2 separate regions of the Homo sapiens genome follow, and region 2 is linked to region 1. The links are contacts of gene promoters, found by promoter capture Hi-C in human tissues and cell types (Jung and others, 2019). All regions are on one chromosome and are shown on one strand. Each heading gives the region's core, a stretch centred on a gene start or on the middle of the fragment in contact. The rest is flanking DNA. Distances are from core to core; before and after follow the strand shown.

Region 1 (2,700 bases), core at 6-2,505:
GAAATCACAAGGGCTGAAATGTGAGCAACTAGGGGGAAGCCAGGAGACTTCGTTTCCAGAGAACCCTGAACAGCCTTCTGCCGGTCACAGATGAGACAGGGATGAGGAAATGCCGCTACAGACCCTCTGATCTGTCCACCCTCGCCTGAAAACCAGTATTTCCGAAGGAATTCTTACCAGCCAAAGTGACTCCAAGAAGACTGGCTAAAACTTAGCAGCGTGCCGCAGCCGAACACAAACCCCAGGAAACAAGCTCGGATGGCTATCTGAAAGGAACCCAAGAGAAGCTCAGTCATTCACAGTCCTCAGAGTACAGATCTGGGCTGCTGACCTTCCCGGAATAGGCAACCCACAGGCAAGCAGATAGAGCCGATTTGCTGAGGTTGAAAGGGAGAAGTGGGCGACCTGGGTTCAAATTCTGCACCCACCGCTCTCTGGCTGTGTGGCCTCCCAAATTATTTAACCTCTCTGAGCTTGCTTCCCCATCTACAGCCAGGGGATAACAGTACCTACCTTTTAGGACTGCAGTAAGGATTACCCACGTAAAACACTTAAGACTAACTGCTACCTACATTTTAGCTGTCATTATTATTATTATTCGTGATTACTATTCAGGGCTGTAGGAAAACTGCTTAAGCCTAGTTTATGAGGTCAGGGCACCCGGGCCTGTGCGCCCAGCCCCACCCACGTCACTGCGGGGCCTTTGACCTGAGACAGGGCAGCAGGTAGGTCTCTGCACCTTAAGTTACATAAAAGCACTCGCGGGCTCGCTCACTCCACCCCACGCGCACCTGCTGAGCTGCACAAGCTGCAATTTAACAACCCACTCCTCGGGTGCAGGGCGCCCGAGCCCGGAGAGAGAGGGTCCCCTCCTGCGACCTGAACTCGCGGATGAAGAGCGCGCGCGTGGGAGGCCACTGCGGGCCCGGGGAGAAAGGTGCCCACGCGCCGCGCCAAGCGGACCGCCGCCCGCCCCGCCGGCCCCCGCCGGCCCCCGCCGGCCTGCACCTGGTAGCGAGGCGGCCGATAGAGCAGCAGCAGCAGCGCGTTGAGCCCGGCCACGTAGAGCGCCAGCCCGGTGCGGCCCTGCAGGCCGGCGCGCGTGAGCAGCGGCAGCGCGAGCACCGAGGCGCCCAGCAGGAAGGTGGCGAGGCTGAGACGCGCCTCAGAGCCCGGCGGAGCCCGCGCCGCGCAGCCCGCCATGGCGCCGGGCGGCGGACTAGCGGGCGGCGGCGCCGGCTGTAGCCCGGAGAAACGCGCCGGCTGCGCCTGCGCACTGTGCCGCCGATGCCGGCCCGGGAAGGGCAGCTGCCCGCAGCTGCGCGCCGCCTGCCAGTTCTCGCGAGAACTCCGGCCCGCCCTGTTGCTGTCCGGAATTTGGCGGGAGCGCCCCGCCCGCCCGCCCCTCCCCGCCCCTCGGGGACATCCGGGCTCTGAGCCAGACTCTGTGCCGGGCGGGGGCCGGGAAGTGGTGGGAGAAGTCGCCGCCCGCGTCTGTCCAAACTTAGTCCCAAACTCAGGAGGTTCCTGTCCCAAGAAGCAATGTAAAGTTTGAAACGAGCCGAGCGCGGTGGCTCACGCCTGTAATCCCAGCACTTTGGGAGGCCGAGGCTGGCGAATCATTTGAGGTCAGGAGTTCGAGACCAACCTGGGCAACATGGGGAAACGCCGTCTATACTAAAAATACAAAAATTAGCTGGGCGTGGTGGCGCACGCCTTTAACCCCAGCTACTTGGTGAGGCTGAGGCAGGAGAATCGCTTGATCCGGGGAGACGGAGGTTGCAGTGAGCCGAGATTGTGTCACTGCACTCCAGCCTGGGTGACAGAGTGACACTCCATCTCAAAAAAAAAAATTTTGAAACGGCCGCACCCTCGCCGGCCCTGCGTCGTCCCCGAAAACCAGACGCCCTGGGGCGCGGGGCCAAGTGCGGCGACCTCCTGCCCTCCCTCTGCGGCTCCCTGGAAACCGGCCTGGACAACGGCACCTGGGCATCCATGCAACGGGACCACCGCCCGCTTAAATTCCTGTTGTGGAACAAGGCTGGACGGTGATGGGAATGCTCAGGATATGTTAGGTTTTCTTTTTTTTTTGAGACGGAGTCTCGCTCTGTCGCCCAGGCTGGAGTGCAGTGGTGCGATCTCGGCTCACTGCAAGCTCCGCCTCCCGGGTTCACGCCATTCTCCTGTCTCAGCCTCCCGAGTAGCTGGGACTACAGGCGCCCGCCACTGCGCCCGTCTTATTTTTTTGTATTTTTAGTAGAGACGGGGTTTCACCGTGTTAGCCGGGATCCATCTCCTGACTTCGTGATCCGCCCGCTTCGGCCTCCCAAAGTGCTGAGATTACAGACGTGAGCCACCGCGCCCTGCCTATATTAGGTTTTTAAATAGCAGGAGGCAAAGCTTTTCGGTGTGATCCTGACTTCACTTGGGGAAAAAGGGCAGGTATCTGAGCCTGGGAAAATGATCAAGCTATCAGCCAAAATGGTATAACGCCGACTATATATGTACCTTTTTTTTTTCTTTTTTTCTTTTTTAGACACAGGGTCTCACTGTGTTGGCCAGGCTGGAGTGCGGCAGTCTGGAACTCCTGGGCCCAAGTGATCCTCCAATCAGCCTCACAAAGCACTGGAATTACAGGTATGAGCCACCACCCCTGGCCTATCTTTAGGTAGTGGCACTCTTGGTGATTTTTATTGTCTT
Region 2 (2,700 bases), core at 79-2,578, 1.1 Mb after region 1:
CATTGAATACATATGTCTGGAGCTCAGGGGAGCAGTCAGACCAGAGATACAGACTTTTGTAGTCATTAATCACGGATGACCACCGAGAGAAAGAGTATAAAGGAGAGAAAATGACTAAAGACTTAGACCCCTGACACCTAAAACATTTAGCTGCCTGGACAAAAAGGGAGAGCCAGCAAAGGAAATGGAGACACAGGGGGCAAGAAAACCAGGAAAGCATGGTGACCTGGAAGCCAGGTGAAGAGGGGCTTCCAAGAAGGAGGAAATGGTTAGCTGTGCCAAATGCTTGGTGAGAGGGGATGGAGGACCAAATGGAAAAAGAAAGCTACAAAACTGTATTTTCAGAAATGTCCTAATTTTGCAAAAATAATTTCTCCCTGCCCAAAAAGAGTAAAAAGCTCTTTGAGTTTGTTAAATCTGTAGTCCAATTTTAATCCATGAACATGGTATATCTCTATTCTAGATATTTTAGAAGATATGTGGTAGGGGAGTGTGGGTTATGTTGTTTTCTATAAAAGGTGTTGAATTTTGTTCTGGCAGGTCAGTTAATTACTGGCAGATCCTCTTGGTCTGGTCAGGCTTGGTTTGAATCTTTATTAGAGTTGGTCCATTTTTATTTTGCCCTTATTCCTAGGCTTTGGCCTTTCCTGTAGGGTATAGTCCTTGTTCCTAAGGCCTGGCCTTTTGGGGAACAAATGCCCAAGGTACTCAGCAAGGGTTCTCTCGTCTGGCTTGGCCAGAATTCAAAGCTCTGCCAGCTCTGCATGACTTCTAGTATCTCTGCTTAGCTTTCAGTCTTATAACAGCTATGGAGTTTTGCCCTGCATGTGGGCAGTTCTGCCCTCAACCAAGTACTCACAGGGTACCTCCAGGCAGACTTCTAGGGCCTACTTTCTGCACAAGATTCTTCTCTCCAGAGCCCAGACCTGTAAGTTCTAGCTGCTTTAGCAGCCCCAAACTCTTGATTTTTGCCTTCTCCTATAATCTAGGCTGCTGTGCCCCATCGTCCTGCATAATGGGCCAAAAGGCTGGGCAAACATGGGGCTTATCTTGTGTGTTTTTTTTCTGGCAGAACCACAGTCCTGAACTGCCTGTTGTACAATCCCTACAAAGAGTAGCCTCAGATATTTTTGTCTAGTTTCATGATTGTTTACAGCAGGAGGGCAAATCCAATCCTAGTCACTTCATTGTGGCAGGAATCAATATCTATTTGGTTTAATGTTTACCATTCCTTCCCATTCCCTATACCAGCTCATCACCCTTGTCAGCGGCAGTTCTATATATGTTTGTAGTCCTTTCAGTTGAAATAAAATTGAGTCAAACAATTTATAATCTGAAATGAACAAAGACCATGTAAATTCTTTTCAGTTGCCTTTTTAGGCTGGTATCTGTCTGTAGAGGACTCCCAGGGAAGGATTCTCAAGGAAGACTCAATGGGAAGCCTTTGGATGGCAAGCTACAGGGCTGAGTACGAGGGTGGCCTTCCTGTGCGGGGTGTAGGATTAGCATCAGAGAAACAAATCAGGAATCCCTGGGTATAACAGTAGGGGCTGCATTGTCATTTTAGCCTTCTCCAGAGATGCATGATCCACCCCCCACCCCGCAGGTCTTTTCCTCTCTATGAAAGTCACTGACAAGTTCCTGTGGATCCCCTGGGGTCCCCAGGAATGTATTTCTACTCTGAGGGCCAGTGAGTATCTTTTTCTTGGCCATGAGCCATGAATAGAAACGGGACCCTTAATACTGCCTGACCTGCCACATGCAGCCCTCTCTTCTGGGACTGTCTACACAAGTACATTTCCACCATCTACAGGGGCGGAATTCCGGTCATTTGCTACAGGGGAAATTCTAGATTTTTGTTTCTAAAGGGCCCCAGGTTACCAAGGTCTCTTGTATATTAGAATTTTACCACTTCTCTCTGGGGGAATTAGGTATTTATCAATACATTTTGTAATATATATTTACCAAATTGTTTATCCAGCAAACTTTTATTAAGCAAATGCCAGGCATTGTGTTAGGTTCTGAAGCTCTCCCAGTTCCTTATCCAGGGCCCCAGGAACGCACTCAGGGACCATTTCAGACACGTGGGTGAGTCAGTCCCTAATGGGCTCAGAAGAGAATCACCAAAATGTTTAAGACAGAACAGTCCCGAGCAGCCAACATTTCACCCTTCCTTCCTCTCTCTTCCCTTGCCGACCAGACCCAAGGGTTTTGGACTCAACTGTTTCCTTTTGTAGCAATGAGCTAAGGAGGCTATTTGCTTTGACTAAGGGGCCAAGATGATGAAGTCAGATGTCCTGAGTTTGCATCTTGCCTCTCCACTGACTTGCTGTGTGACCTTAAGCAAGTACCTTCCCCTCTCTAGGTCTGCTTCCTGAAAATTCAAAGTCTCTGAAAATTCTGTTTTAAAATATGTGCTGGAGGTGGGGAGACCTGATTCCCTGCCTAGTGCTTCCTTCGTTTTCATGGATTCTTTATTAAGCAGATATTACTTCTTCATAATAAAATCGTATATGAAACAATGACTTGATTTCTTTATATGAAACATACTTTGTACATCTAAAAATGTTGTTGAAATCATCTGAGCCTCTGAGCAAGAGCTTCGCCTTTGACTCTGAAGCCAGTGCTGTCAGCAGTTTCTCCCCCTTAATGTAATGCTGTATGTGACTCAATATGAACTAAGCAGGGGGTGGGAGGTAC

What was found. Contacts are between HindIII fragments. The study calls those that stand out against the background at their distance.
Region 2: a contact is called between a fragment that was not itself captured here and the fragment with the promoter of ICMT in region 1, in 1 of the 25 tissues and cell types used here (mesendoderm cells).

The regions. Positions count from the first base shown.
Region 1 is chr1:6,234,709-6,237,408 of GRCh38, forward strand. It overlaps ICMT (isoprenylcysteine carboxyl methyltransferase), which reads right to left and starts at 1,256. Exons shown (of 5, transcript NM_012405.4): 1 at 1,009-1,256; 2 at 178-266. The coding sequence starts at 1,203. It overlaps ICMT-DT (ICMT divergent transcript), which reads left to right and starts at 1,532. Exons shown (of 5, transcript NR_103534.1): 1 at 1,532-1,628; 2 at 2,258-2,442; 3 at 2,537-2,637. RefSeq lists silencers at 925-984, 1,195-1,524 and an enhancer at 1,489-2,461. The HindIII fragment of the contact is 11,307 bases long and covers 1-2,700 here.
Region 2 is chr1:7,296,732-7,299,431 of GRCh38, forward strand. The region is part of intron 5 of CAMTA1 (calmodulin binding transcription activator 1); the gene reads left to right. Among named protein-coding and RNA genes, the nearest start is that of CAMTA1-IT1, 66 kb to the right of the region's middle. The HindIII fragment of the contact is 6,022 bases long and covers 1-2,700 here.